Linked DNA regions of Homo sapiens: all the other regions are linked to region 1. Evidence: promoter capture Hi-C in 16 types of primary human blood cells and fetal thymus (Javierre and others, 2016). All regions are on one chromosome and are shown on one strand. Each heading gives the region's core, a stretch centred on a gene start or on the middle of the fragment in contact. The rest is flanking DNA. Distances are from core to core; before and after follow the strand shown. Region 1 holds the start of SYK (spleen associated tyrosine kinase). Region 2 overlaps SECISBP2 (SECIS binding protein 2). Region 3 holds the start of GADD45G (growth arrest and DNA damage inducible gamma). Region 4 has its middle 10 kb from the start of LINC03062. Region 5 overlaps LINC03062 (long intergenic non-protein coding RNA 3062).

Region 1 (2,854 bases), core at 158-2,657:
TAATACAAATCAATTTCTGTTTTAATGCAAGAGTTTTCTAAATACGTTAAAACAAAAGTGCCGTTCAGAACAAAAATGATTTGATAAAATAATTTCAACTGACAAAGATTTCTCACTTAAAACACTTAATAATTTACATGTATTTAAGCCTTTTTGAGAAAATATAATTCTATCTATGCACTGCTCGGACTTTCACTGGGGAGAAGGAGGACATCAATGTATTTAGTTGCATTTAATTAAAATGCTGCCTGTGTGAAGGCAATGAATTTGTCCCTACTAAGACAAAGAAGTCAGATGGTAGAATCAATTCCATTTCTTCCAGGAACTCTTAGGGATTAAATGGTTCCTTTTTTTATTTTTAATACCAAGAATCAGATATGGCACAACATCTTCAACTCTTTTTTTTTTTTACTACACGCTGCAATGCTTTGAACTCTACTTGAGTTCGACTGAATCTTTGCTAAGTCAGGCAAAACTCAAAAAATATTTTGCAACACTGTTTCCAACGTAAAAAAAGATTCAAACTCTCACTTCTCCAATTGTCTTTCTAGTCCTTGAACATTCCAACAAAAGAATGGATTGCATTTATATAGTTTTTAGGTGGGCTTAAGGTTTTGGAGCCACATTGCCAAAAACAGACAAACAGACAAAAAGAAACACCCTTAACTCTTAACTCAAATTTACATTTTACTACATAAAACTTTCTTGCTCTCCAAGTTCATTGGCTAAGTAAATTACTTGACAATGAAAATGTATCCACAAGAGTAATTATGCTAAATTTTAGTAGTGGTTCAGAAGGGTTGTTGTTTGAATGCAACTGCTGTTTCTTTTTGTAGTAAAAGATTTGTCTAAGCTCATAAGACGTCTGGACATTTCTACTTTGAGTAACTTTGATAAACACTGCGGCATTTTCCAGTGGATTCGTGTAAATGGCCAAAGGAAAATGTTCTAGCTCCAAGATCGACTTCCTCGCGCTGTGCCTGATCCCAATCCCGCGTCTCCCGAGGGCCGGGCCGCGACCGCACTTTCCGCGCTCCCTGGGGGCCTGGGCGCCCTGGGGTGCCCGGGTCACTTTCCGCACGGTCTGACCTCCGTCCCCTCCGCCCAGGCCTGAGCCCCTCTCTCCCGGCGCAGCTTCTGGATCCCGAGCGCGGGTAGGTTCAGGAGCGAAGCTGGCGGAACCCACCTGTATTTTATTCACATGGTTTCAGCACTTTTACCTCGGCCGATGAAGGTAGAACAAGAAAGGGCATGAAAGCAGCGCGTCGTTCCCCGTAACCTCCTCTCCTTACCAGAAAGTCCCGGCCGGGTAGGGGACGCGGCCACACCTACCTGCGCCAGGTGAGGCGAGGGCGGGCGCAGCGCGGGGCCACCCGCTCCTCCTCGCTCTCCAGCCGCCGCCGGGGTGGCCTCAGCCGCCGGGCCCGCGGCTCTTCCTCATTTTGGGCAACTTCCTTAACGCGCCCGGGCAGGCGGCCCGCACTTCCTCCCAGTGTCGCGCCCCGCCGCCCTGGCCCGCCCTGCTGACCGCGCCCATGAGCCCGGAGCTGGGCGGGAATCGGCTGAAGCGCCGGGCGAGGCCCGCGGAATCGGCCCAGGCGGCGGCAGGTGTAGAGGAGCCCGGGTGGGGCGCGCCTCTCTCCTCCCGCCGGACAAGGGCCCTTCGCAGGCAGAGAAGGTGGGGCTGCCCGGGACATGGACCGCATCGGTCCCCCTCCTCCCCGCCAGCGCGGTGGCTTCTGTGACTGCCCAGGACCCACAGACACCCAGCGGCCCTTTCCTTTTGCTATGCAGTGCCGGGGAAGAGACTCCACTGCATGGCATATTCCCTGGAGTGTATCTTGGTCACCAAACCAACAAGCTCCAAGCTACTGTGCTGGAGCACTCGGGAGGCCTGGGCAGTGCTGAGAGGGACCCTGTAGGTGAACACCAGACTTCACGGCGCACTAGTGGGCAATGGGGCACGCTGCTTCTGAAGGCTTTAATTATTACAAAAGGCTTTGCTTCCTTCTTACCATGACGGCTCTGACGTCCACAACCAAATAAATTAAACCTATAGCCCTAAGAATGGTTTTGAGATACCCGCCTGATACCCTTCTCCCAACCCATCCCCCTTTTCCTTTTGGACATTCCTCTTTAAAATGTTCCCACAAAACGGCATCCAGACCTTCTTGATAACACTGGTTGGCAGTGCCTGTTTTAAAAAGCTTTACCCTAAGCCAAAATGCGAGAAGCAAAAAAATATATATATAATGTGCTGGATTGTAATTGCCATGGAGAAAATATAGGGATGGGACTATTTACACTTATTGGAGCCCCCAGCCTTTTCTGCTTCCAGGGTTATTGGATTTTCATTCATTTTTGCCATTATTTTTTCTAAACCTGTTAAAAGAAAACTTCAGCAGAATTAAATTTAAAGCAGTTTAATTGAGTAATGAATGATTTGCGAATGGGGCAGCTTCCAGAATCACAGCGGATTCAGAGACTCCAGGGATGCCTCATGGTCAGAACATATTTATAGACAAAAAAAGGGAAGTGACATACAGAAATTGGAGGTAAGGCAGAGAAACAACTGGATTGGTTACAGGTTGGCTTTTGCCTTCTTTGAACACAGTTTGAACACTCAGCAGTGTATGAATGGTTGAAGTATGGCCACTGGGATTGGCCAAGACTCAGCTATTGTTAAAGGCACATACTCCTAAATTAGGTTTTCAATCTTGTCTGCCTATTAAGCTAGGTTACAGTTCATCCACAAGGACTCAAATATAGAATACAGAGTCCTTCTCAGATCATACTTAGGTTGCTTTAACAAACATAAATGGAAGATTTTGATAATGGTTATATTTGCTTATCA
Region 2 (2,854 bases), core at 91-2,590, 1.5 Mb after region 1:
GCTCTCACCTGCCCTCCAAGGCTCTATCTCTGTCTCTTTCCCTAGTGCAGTCTCCTCTACACCCTCCTTATCTCACCCATCTGACACATTCTGGGTCAGAACCTCTTATCTTTCTGCTTAGGACTTGACATAAATATAAACAATCCAGCACCTTCCCTAGTCCAGGCCTCCATCTCCAACTTTCAGGTCATTTCCACTTACTATTTCACTTTTTCCCAATTCAGCACGTATAAATCCCAAATTTAACATCCATTCCCCAAAACAGCCCCATTTACAACTTCTGTTCTCATGTATGATCCTACAATTATTTCCATGTATTCAACCGAATATTTTTGTAACATCTTTCCCACCAAAACCTGTACGGACAATCATGGGGCTCTTTTTTATTTCAACAGTTCTCTCATGTAGTTTCTTTACTATTTCCAGTGCCTAGAACCTGGTCAAAGCCTTCAAGACCCTCTTCTTTAAAAATCTTTCCAAAATTTAGGAGTGATTACAATGACCCCATTTAAGACACTACCAAAAGTTCCCTATTGCCTACCCAGCAAACCTAAAACTTTTCAGCTGTACTATGCAGGCTTCCAATCTACTGACAGCTTCCCCCCAAAATTATCACTTTATTCCTCTACTATCTCCCAAACATATCATGCACATGGTCCCTTCAGTCAGGCAACGACCCAAAGGGGATGCAGTTTCTCCTCCACCCACCGAGCCACGTGCTCAGCTGTACAATGTTGTATACCACTAGTTCTTCTCATAGCTGATCTGCTTTAACTCAAAAGCATCAATTGGTACTAAAATTTTCACAGTATATTGGCAGATGGTGAAAATGCTCAACTACCTCTTGTCAATAGCAGCAGCAATTTTGAAGAATAGCACGTTAATTCTGGTTCTGGTGCTACCTATTTGAATTAGCATGAACAAACATTCCTAGCTTCAGTTTCCCATGTGCAAAATAACATTACATCTGCCTGCCACCTCATGGATTGTAGTAACTATGAAAGAAGTGGAAGTATACAATAATACCCAAACAAAAGGCACACATCCTCATACACAGGTTGCACAGGATTTTTCACAAAGGATGTAACATGACAATGGACATTACTTGGAAGAAACTTATTTTGTTTGCATAGGCAAATTTGTTCATTACATCAGTAAATAATCAGTATTTTCCAAACATGGCAAATGTTATCTATCAGACTACTTCTAATTTCTTTGTCTTGTCCTATAACATAAATATGGAAGAGTCTGGTATGTTCATTTTCATCTCCATCACTTCAAAACTATGGAAGACTTTCAATAATTAATTCCAAATGAATAAATGAGCATCTTTGAGTGCACTGTGAAAGGTACTGGAGGAGGACAAATTCTGTAAAAGGTTACTATACCTTCTTTAAGGAAAGATGAGGGAAGGGGACATACAAAGTTGACTTAGGATGCTATGTAGTTGAACAAGTAAGAAGGAGGAAATAGTTGTTTCAGAAACTTCTATTCCTTTTGTCACAGCAGCAAGAGATCTCCATTTACATGTAATCTGACTATGGCAATGCAATTTTTAATCTATATTAGAACTGCTCAGATAATCAATTCTCAACCATGTGAAGTCTCATTATTTCATCCCCACTTTAAAGGATCTTTTCCTTTCTAACTCTTCCTCTTCAACTTAATGCCTTCCTTATCCTTGTTTTCTTGCCAGGCGTGAATACTTTTCCTTGGTCATAAACCAAAGCTAAAAAAGAAGAGTTAAGAAAACTATTTTTTTTTTTTTGAGAGAGAGTCTTGTTCTGTTGCCCAGGCTGAAGTGCAGTGGCGCAGTCTTGGCTCACTGCAACCTCCATCTCCTGGGTTCAAGCAATTCTCTACCTCAGCCTCCCGAGTAACTGGGATTACAGGCACCTGCCACCACACCCGGCTAATTTTTGTATTTCTGTAGTAGAGATGGGGTTTCACCATGTTGGTCAGGCTCGTCTTGAACTCCTGACCTCGTGATCCACCCGCCTTGGCCTCCCAAAGTGCTGGGATTACAGGCATGAGCCACCACACCCGGCCAAGAAAACTAATTTTTAAATTCAGCACTGCCCATTCTTGAGTCTCTGATTAGTCTCCACTCATGTTACTGCCAAAATGTTCCTTTAGCCATGTGAATGTTTTCCACCACTATTTTGAGTAACTAAATACCACCTAGCAGATGGCTTTGAGCTCTTGTCACTGAGATATATTTTTGTATTTTGTTATGTGAGACACTCAAGGTAGGGAACAACTCAAGTGAGACCCATGCCAAACTCCCCTTTACAGTGGATGAAATACAGTGGAAAAATAGGGTATTCCTACCAAAGACCAAATTCCAGCATATAAAGGTAGTGTTTCAACTTTCGTCAAAAAAATACAACTTTCAGTATTTCCTAAACACAAAAGACAACTCAATCATTTTCTTATTCATTACAATTCTCATTCTTGCAAATATAATTCTAGAATTTATATACAGTACAAACTATTTTCAATTACATCATGCAGGCACAAATAAAAGGAAACAAGTTAGAATCATATCAAAGAAGAAAAAAGCATTAGGATTCTTAGATTAGAACTACACCTGATGCAAATCTTAAAAACAGATCTACAAATAAATCTACACAATTATGTGAAAGATTAATACTTTTTTTGTCTAAATTCAGCTGCAAGAGGAAGCCATTTTGTAAACCTAGAGAATGAATCCTGAGAAGGAAAAAGAAAATGTAAGGAAAAATGTAAGCCTTCTTTCAACTCAAATTTAGAAGAACTTAAGCCTGAAATGTGTAAAATTCATCTCCATATTAACAGATATAAAGTAAAAAGGTGGAAAGCAAAAGTCAACAAT
Region 3 (2,854 bases), core at 153-2,652, 1.2 Mb after region 1:
CGCCGCTCCTTCCTGCCGAGCGCAGGCTGCTGAGTCACGCCTGCCCGGCCAGTCTGTCCTTCCTGGCCCTGAGGCCAACGTCCTAGCCTAGGCCTTCCTGGGCGAGCAGCCGCTCCAGACACTTGCAGAGTCCTCAGCTCGGACCAGCCTGGCCCTGCCGCCACCGGGCCCCTCCTCGGGAGGCCGCGCCTCCTCGCTCTCCAGGCGCCCCCCCCGCCTGCCAGTCTCCACGCCGCACTCGGGCACCCTCGGAGGGCCCCTCCACAGAGCCAGCCGCGCTCTAGGCGCCCCGGGGCGTCACCACGTCGATCAGACCAAGGTCCCCGCCGGGCTGTCACTCGGGGAGGGTGATGCTGGGCACCCAGTCGTTAACGCTGCGGCTCTCCTCGCAAAACAGGCTGAGCTTCTCCAAGGCGGGATCCTTCCAGGCGTCCTCGTTGGGGTTCTGCGGAGAGAGAGCAGGGTCAGCCTGGCTGGCCGCGGGCCGAGGCGGGAACGACACTGGGGCGGGGACAGGACGGGACTGTACTCACCGAAATGAGGATGCAGTGCAGGTCGCCCGGCGCACCCGCCTCCTCGCCGGCGCCCACGATAGCCGCCAGCCGCTGCACATCGCCCACGCGCACTATGTCGATGTCGTTCTCGCAGCAGAAAGCCTGGATCAGCGTAAAATGGATCTGCAGCGCGATGTCGCCCTCGTCCTCCTCACCCGCAGCCAGCACACAGAAGGTCACATTGTCGGGGTCCCTGCGAGGGCAAGGCGGGGACCTAGGTCAGAACCGGCTAGCCGAGTTCTCCCGCCGCCACCCCTCCCATCCGCCAGTCTCCTCGCCATTCACCCCCGCCCCTGTCTCCCAGCCTGGGCCGCGTCTACACTTACACGTTCAAGACTTTGGCTGACTCGTAGACGCCGGCAGTGAGGCAGCCCTGACGCTGCGCCGACAGCAGCAACTCATGCAGCGCTTTCCCGGCACCCTGCATCCTGCGGAGGAGCCAGCGCAGTGAGCGGGAGCCGGCCGGAGGGCGCGGCGGAGACCCCAGCCCCGGCCACCGGCACACACCCTTGGCTCCCCAACTCCAACCACACTCCAATCCCGGCTCAGCGCCTGCACCCCGGCTCTCCAACCGGGATCTGGCGCCCGGACCCCCGCGCTCCCCTCCTACCCCGCGGATTCCCACCCTGGAAAACCCTGACGGTCGCCGACCGACCAGCGGCTTTCTCAGCGCCCTGAAACCCACCTGGCTGTGCTTTCCGGAACTGTGTCCTGGCCGCGGACTTCTTCCAGAGTCATAGTGCGATCAACCAGCAGCTAGTTATCCACAAGCGGAGAGCGCGGAGGGGACGCGGGCGAACACACTGACAGCCAGAGCTCAGCACGGCGCGCCCACCACCAGCGAGTGCGCCCCTACTACGCTGCGCGCCCTTATATAGGCTGGTGGGTGCGGCGCCGCCAGCTGGCGCGAGGCTGCGCGCCTATTGGCCGGCACCCGCTTTCTGATGTAAATGAGGCGGCGAGCCAGCGGCTCGTGCCAGAAGGCCACGTGGGGAGGGGTGCGGGGGATGACAATGCCTCAAATCTGCCGCTTTTGTTGGGGTGTTACCAGGCAGACTGGAGCCTGCAGATTTCATCTCGCCTGGCTTTTTTTTTTTTTTGAAGTCCTTAAAAGGAAAAAGTAAAAAAAAAAAAAAAAGAAAAAACCCAACCCACAAAAACCTTGTTTGCTTATATGATGCTGCAATTTGCGAAAAGCACCTTTATAGAAGCAAAGGGATTTTTTTTTGCATTTTGTATTGCTACCTTTCTATTTGTTTCTTTTCTTTAATTTGAAGTCTATGAGACTGTTGCATTGGAGCCAGAAATTAAGGTAAAAACAGGTAGCGCCAGTTAGAGGCTTGCAAAAGGCAGTGGGCACAGCCCCCTGCAGCTGACCACTAGCGTCCCGAGCGCGCTGGTGATGCCTGCCAGGCATACTCAATGTGTACATTGAGCCGTCTCTGGAAGATCCCACCCCACCTCCCCGCCCTTGGCCGAGCGCGGCGGGGCGCGGGAGACGGGGGCGGGCGGGGACGAGCAGATTGCGGCCGGCGCACGCCGCTCGTTTGCATTTCTATGGAGGGCGCACAATAGCAGAGGTCTGGCGTGTGGCGGTTTGCTGTAGGGACAATCGAGGCTTTCTCTTCATAGCAACACTGTCCACCTGCCGCCGGGTGGGGTGGGCAGGACCCCGCCGCGCGTGGGGGTCGCCGGGCTGCCTGGCGCGTGGGGTCGAGGCTGAGTGCCACTCCGTGGTCCCTGAGTGCACGCCCCCAGTACTGGCCCTGCTACAAGTAATTCCCTTCCATCCGTTCCTCGCACGGGTGCCGAACAGCCGCGCGAGTTGGGAAGGACGGAGAGCTGCTGTGCAGTCTTCGCGGCTGGACGCCCTGTGGCCGGGACCCCGCGGCTGCAGCCCCTGGAGCTTAGGTAATGCAGCTCGGAATCTTTCCCGGGGCGCCATCTGCAGGCAGGTTAAAAAGATCCTGAACCCCTTTTGTCCTCCCCTCCCCCCAACACACACACCCTTGCATTGGCCTGGCGCGGGGGAAGGGCGGTGGAGAGGGACGGCCACGGAGCTGCCCGGCCGGGCCCAGTGAGCCCTGTCCAAGCTGCGCATAAATAGAACCCGAGTAAGGGCTGCAAAACGCATTCAGGTGGGACTGCAGTTACCCTGGGGAGTAGAGGGCAAAAGGAAATTCCCATCCAGTACTGATGGAGTAAGAGCCCCTACGTCTTATACCATGTTGAAATATCTTAATTACTTAAATGCGCATATGTAAAAAGCCTTTTTTCCGGCAATGGAATAAGTCTGGAAG
Region 4 (2,854 bases), core at 193-2,692, 1.2 Mb after region 1:
AGAAATGTATTTCTCACAGTTCTAAAGGCTGGAAAATTGAAGATCAAGGCTCTGGTGGGTTCTGTGTCTGGTGAGGGCTGCACTCTGCTTCCGAGATGGCTCTCTGTTGCTGCATCCTCTAGAGGAGACAGAGAGGCTATGTGAATCATCTTTTATAAAGGCCTAATCCCATTCATGAAGGAGGCACCCTCATGATTTCCTCGCCTCCGAAAGGCCCCACCTGTTAATACTATTGCATTGAGATTTAGAATTCAACGTGAATGTGGGAGGGGAAACAACATTCAGACCACAGCATTCCACTAGGGAATGCCTAGCAGAGCCGTGGAGTCAGGGCTACAGCAGAGTCCTCATTAGGGCAATGTTTGGTGCAGCTCTGAGGGCAGGGCCACCTTCAAAACCCCAAAACTATGAGAAAATAAATGTGTGTTCTAAATTACCTAGTCTCCAGTACTTTCTCACAGCAGCATAATCAGACTAAGACATTCACCAAACATCCATTGTTTTCAGTCATTGTCTGGTCTCACCCTGTGTTTGTCCTGGCCTCAGGAAAGCTTTTACCCCAAGATTTTTCAGCCTGGTAAACTTTACCTGCTTGTAGCTACTGACTGGGAAAGTGGGAAATTCTGCCTTGGGCCCTCCTGCTCTGAGCGCAAGGAACCGCTGGGTCCCTACTCTCTGCCCACGAATACCAGAAACAGGAGCTTGTCTGCAAGAATGTGACTGCTTCTGGAAAAGGAGGAGGGATGGGTTCCATGTACAGAATAGTGACTATTGGTTCTCCTTTGCCAAAGAGGAATGTTAGAGCTTTCTTCCTTTCTTCTACAATCTGGCTTAGAAGAATATTGTTATAAAAAACAAACAAACAAACGCACACACATGCGCGCACACACACACACACACACAAAGGACTCAAAAGATGAAATTGCATGCTAGCCAACATCAGCAGGCACACTGCTCTTTCCAAATGCACAGGGCCATTGTTTTTGAGAAACTGAGACTTCAAAACATGATTTTGTAGAAGGAAACTTTCTAAACTACTAGATGGTTGGTGGTTTTTCTAGAACTGGGAGCTTGGAGGGAACAAAATAGAAATGGAGCCAAATGCAAGAGCAACTGCAGCACGAGGCATCTCAGAGGCTCACCGAAGTCACATTGCCTGCAACCGGCTGGGTTTTATTGTTGACTCTTTTAATACTACAAAAATAGTTCATGTTGCTGGAACAAGTGGCATAGTATGCTTGCATGAGGGAGCACTTCTGAGTCCTCTGCTCACCCGCTACCCCACCTCCAAGACCCAAAGCCATGGCCCTGACCTGTCCGGCAGCACCCTGCCTTCCTGCACCATGTGCACACACACAACCCTGAGCCCTACTCGGGGCAGGCCACCCTGGGCACTGAGTGGACACTTGCTGCTTTTCTGTAATTTAATATTTCCTGGGCATTCCTCCAGAATAATACTCACAGATCTACCTTGTTCCTCTTGAAAGCTATCTAATATTCCACTGAATGGAAGTCCCATCCTTTATCCGTCTATTCCGTCCCCAGGAACATTCAAGCTGTCCTGTTTTGTGCTATCTTTGTATAAAGCTGTGGTACACACCCTGTGCATATATTCTTACACATCAGTTCACTTACTTCTGAAGGATAACTTCCTAAAAAGGAGACTGCTGAGTCAAAGTGTCCAGGCACTTTACAGTGTAACGAAAACCGCCATTCTCTTGCCTTTGCTGTGGTTCACCATCCCAGCAATAATGTAAGGAAGTGTGCCCATTTCCTTGCAACCGGCCACCATTGAGGTTGTCCATTTTTAAACATTGTGTCAACCTTAGAGGTGGAAAATATACATCATTGTGACTTTTATCTTCATTTTGCTGATTACTAGTGAAATCGAGCATCTTTTTATGTAATCTTGGCAACCAAGGTGGCCTCTTCTTCCATTTTTATAATCTTTGCCCATTTTTTGTTTGTGTTTATTTTGTAAAGCTCTTTGCATATTGTGGCCACTAACCTTTTATGTTTCACAGAAATTGCCAAACATTTTCCCGGGTTTTTCTTAGTAATTTTACTTCTTGCCAAACAGAAATGTTTAACTTTTATGCAGCAAGTTTGTCCTTTGCAAGATCAAATCTGTCAGCCTTCAGGATGTCCTTTCTATTTTCTGGTCCTGCATATTTTAAAGGGCAACTCCCAACTCCAAATCAGACATATGTATGCCTAAAATTGCATCTGTCACTGTCAGAGCTGCATGTTTTCACAAGTGGTTCCCCAGGCTTTCTAAGACTTTCTGCCCCGCTGGAAGCAGTTGACACATGACTGTCCATAGGAAAGCTTTCAGACCACCAGGGAGCCCAGGCCAGGGACTCAGCATTTTCCTTTTTCCTGGCGTTAATTACCATGCAGAGAGAACACTCTATCTGAGCCCAAGGATTGCTAAGGATACCTCTTTTATTTATGGAAAATTTCGGAGTTTTCCAGAAAGAAACTGTTTGAAAGCATGAAGCTAAGCCTGGGGACACTCAGTCACCAAGGAAAGCTGCCAGGGACATTGGGGAAGTCAGGGTGCTGGTGAGTGCCTGCATGGGTGATTTGGTACATGCCCCACCCAGCTTGACCCCACCCGGTGCTCCCGAAGACCCCACAGGACACCCCACAGGAGAGCAGCTCTGCAGGGTGTGGAACAGGACCAAGGGGCAGAATGAAGTTCGCATAGACTGTGCTCCATCTGTGCCACAGCATGGGCCACAGTAAGATGTTCCACTGGTGGCTCATGCCTGTAATCCCAGCACTTTGGGAGGCCAAGGCAGGTGGATCATGAGGTCAGGAGTTCGAGACCAGCTTGGCCAACATGGTGAAA
Region 5 (2,854 bases), core at 249-2,748, 1.1 Mb after region 1:
GCGGGACACACAAGCAGGGCCGCGGGGGCAGGGAGAACATACTAGAGCTTCTCTTAATATTTTTTTCATCTCTTACGTGGAGAGGTGTGTTCAAAACAAGGTTTACAGAGGGGGTACATCATCCAGTGGAGACAAACTGGGGAGCCTGTGCAAGGTGTGGCCCCTCAGTGCCTCAGCCTCCACACCTGCTGCCTCGGCAGAACCTTCCAGCCATGGCTCCTTAGCATCACTGACTTCCCACAATACATTTCATTGCTCATCTTCATCAAGGTTCATCTGCCTCAAAGTGTGATGGTGCTTTCCATTCACTCCAGCCGCTCTCCTTGTTTGCATTAAACTGGGAGAGGGGGTGGTTTTTTCCGGGGTAGGCCCTGCAGCACCGAGGGCTAGAGCCCTGTATCTGGCTACATGCCCGGTGGTGAGACCCTGAGCAGGAGCTCAAACTCTAGTGCATCACTGCCCAAGCCAGACCATGGGGCAACTTACGGTTTCTACCTAAAGGGGTATTGTGCCAATTAAATGTGAAGTACTCAACATAATGTCCAAGTAGGCACTCAGTGACCACTGGATGTTATCAAGATCACCTTACAGAAAAATGTGTTTTCAAAATGTGTGCCCCACTAGGTTCCAGGTATGAATGTGCCTATCTGTGCATCCATTGATGAATACGTCAGTTGATCTGTGTATTTGTCTAAATATATAGCCATGTGAGAGCCCTTTCTTATTTGTTCCGTAGGGATGTCTAACTACAACTTGGGAGGAAGGTCAGGGTACTGTTGCCTGCTGGATGCCATGTGTGGGTAGGGCACCCCTCACTGCCCCGTGATCCACAATAAAGGGCTTTCTGACTTCTCCCCTGTTCATCCAGTTTCTGCATTGGTAGGTAGGTTTCCTCTGTGTGAGCTCACAACGGACACCAAAAAAAGACTTGAGCAGTTCTTCATCCAAGGTTGTCATTTGGCAAATTCCTCCCACATAGCAGCGTATCCCGTCAGCAGCCCTGTGCCCTTGTAAGGACCGGCCATCCTCTGAGCATGACCCTGTGGTGAGCCTTTCATACCTCAGGCTGGCATACAGCCCGATGGAGGCGTCCGCTTCTTCCCCACCCCAGAATCCTCTCCTTCCGGCCTCCCTTTAGGAGTCCCCTTGTCTCTCATGCTCCTTCCCTGGACATAGACTTCCTGCCTAAGAAAACAGCATTGCCCATGCCCTGTCATGCAATGGTAGAGAAAGGATGGAAAGGGCATTCTCCACTCTCAGAAACAGTTCGCCCTTCTACCTCCAAGCACACGAAGGAAAAGGCGACCAATGTACCTACTACGGCTATGTCAGATGGTTAGTTTTCTACCCCAAATTCACACCAGAGAGCACCCAGCTATCTTATGCCCCTACTAGCACAGCTTTAGTCTCCCAACTGGGGGTACACCATATGAGTGCCGTGCTTAGCACACATCTCTGTCCTCTGCATTTTCATGCTGGCCCCTTGGAGGCTGGGGAGGAGGAGAGAGAGCCAGAGAGATGGAGGTACAGCAGTAGCCACGAGCTTGCTTCAGTGCACATGTGCCACTGCAGCTGCCAGTCCCTCTCTTTTTCTTACTCCATCTTTCTCTCTCTACACAGTCTTTATTGTCCCTAAGTTCTCCATTCATCTCCAAAGCACATTCTGGGCCTTGCACTCCCCTCGTCTGCTCCAGCTTCATGTCCCCACCCAGATTTCTTCTATCTTATCATCTCCATCTTACTCAACCTCACACTGTGTTTTGTTTCTACATTTTCTCTCATTTTAAAAAATCCAATCACCTTTAATATTTACTCGCCCCCCAGAGATTTTCAGTGTCGCCCCCTCTCCATTAATTGTAGGCCATCATCTTGTACCACCATCCATTTCATTCCTCTATTTTTTTCCCGCTGTGTTGACTACCACTTGCCAAAGAACACCACCTCCATCTGAAGATGGCCCAGCAGACATCCTGGATGATTTTCAAGCATTTTTTTTTTTTAGTGTACAGAGCTGACCCAGTAACTTCACCAAACTTTACCTCTGACATTCTAGCCTTCCATGTTTTGTTTTGTTTTGTTTTGTTTTGTTTTGTTTTGTTTTTTGAGATGGAGTCTCACTCTTGTTGCCCAGGCTGGAGTGCAGTGACGTGATCTCAGCTCACTGCAACCTCTGCCTCCCGGGTTCAAGCAATTCTCCTGCCTCAGCCTCCCGAGTAGCTGAGATTACAGGCACAAGCCACCATGCCTAGCTAATTTTGTATTTTCAGTAGAGACAGGGTTTCGCCATGTTGGTCAGGCTGGTCTCGAACTCCTGACCTCAGGTGATTCACCCTCCTCGGCCTCCCAAAGTGCTGGGATTACAGGTGTGAGCCACTGCTCCCGGCCAAGTCTTCCATGTTTTAATGATTAAAATGGCATCATGGATAAATAGGTTGAATTAATGTGAATTATTTTTCAGTCAGTATTCTCTGATAGGTATTATATCTCAGTCTTTCCTCCTGGCAATCGAGACAAGAAGGAACTGTAGGTGTAGTGTGAGACACAAATTTCACTTTATTTTTCAACTCAAAAAGCCCCCATGATGTCCCTTAGACCCCAGAGTAAAAAAAGTTACAAACTCCCTGGGGCTCAGTTCTTGGCACTTCATCCTAATTATGGCCCACGATCCTCAAAGTGGAGGTTGAATAAGTGATGATCTACTGTTATTATTAATTTGCATTTTTATGAAGCTCTTTTATAAGGACACCCTGTGGCTTCAGTGAGCTTGAAGATCCCAGCCTCCAGGCCCATAGCCTCATTCATGGTGTATGTTTCGAGGTGCCCTGTGGAATTAGGTACTGAGTTTATAAATATT

Evidence for each region. Contacts are between HindIII fragments. The CHiCAGO score rates a contact against its expected background, and 5 or more counts as called.
Region 2: a fragment that was not itself captured here is called in contact with the fragment with the promoter of SYK in region 1 in 2 of 17 cell types (neutrophils and monocytes); the score reaches 11.7 in neutrophils.
Region 3: the fragment with the promoter of GADD45G here is called in contact with the fragment with the promoter of SYK in region 1 in 6 of 17 cell types (monocytes, megakaryocytes, fetal thymus and 3 more); the score reaches 15.0 in monocytes.
Region 4: a contact is called between a fragment that was not itself captured here and the fragment with the promoter of SYK in region 1, in 1 of 17 cell types (neutrophils). The highest score is 6.9, in neutrophils.
Region 5: a fragment that was not itself captured here is called in contact with the fragment with the promoter of SYK in region 1 in 1 of 17 cell types (neutrophils); the score reaches 5.2 in neutrophils.

Annotation. Positions count from the first base shown.
Region 1 is chr9:90,800,372-90,803,225 of GRCh38, reverse strand. It overlaps SYK (spleen associated tyrosine kinase), which reads right to left and starts at 1,407. Exons shown (of 14, transcript NM_003177.7): 1 at 1,333-1,407. RefSeq lists silencers at 1,269-1,428, 1,449-1,658. The HindIII fragment of the contact is 2,717 bases long and covers 1-2,209 here.
Region 2 is chr9:89,320,580-89,323,433 of GRCh38, reverse strand. The region is part of intron 2 of SECISBP2 (SECIS binding protein 2); the gene reads right to left. Among named protein-coding and RNA genes, the nearest start is that of SECISBP2, 3.5 kb to the right of the region's middle. The HindIII fragment of the contact is 4,234 bases long and covers 1-2,854 here.
Region 3 is chr9:89,603,560-89,606,413 of GRCh38, reverse strand. It overlaps GADD45G (growth arrest and DNA damage inducible gamma), which reads right to left and starts at 1,402. Exons shown (of 4, transcript NM_006705.4): 1 at 1,240-1,402; 2 at 881-982; 3 at 534-747; 4 at 1-445. The coding sequence starts at 1,292. The coding sequence ends at 335. LOC105376139 (a long non-coding RNA gene) reads left to right here and starts at 1,398. Exons shown (of 2, transcript XR_930105.3): 1 at 1,398-2,854. RefSeq lists a silencer at 2,033-2,082 and an enhancer at 1,693-2,591. The HindIII fragment of the contact is 4,421 bases long and covers 1-2,854 here.
Region 4 is chr9:89,628,129-89,630,982 of GRCh38, reverse strand. No RefSeq gene overlaps it. Among named protein-coding and RNA genes, the nearest start is that of LINC03062, 10 kb to the left of the region's middle. The HindIII fragment of the contact is 1,777 bases long and covers 554-2,330 here.
Region 5 is chr9:89,692,299-89,695,152 of GRCh38, reverse strand. The region is part of intron 3 of LINC03062 (long intergenic non-protein coding RNA 3062); the gene reads right to left. Among named protein-coding and RNA genes, the nearest start is that of LINC03062, 54 kb to the right of the region's middle. The HindIII fragment of the contact is 3,386 bases long and covers 1-2,854 here.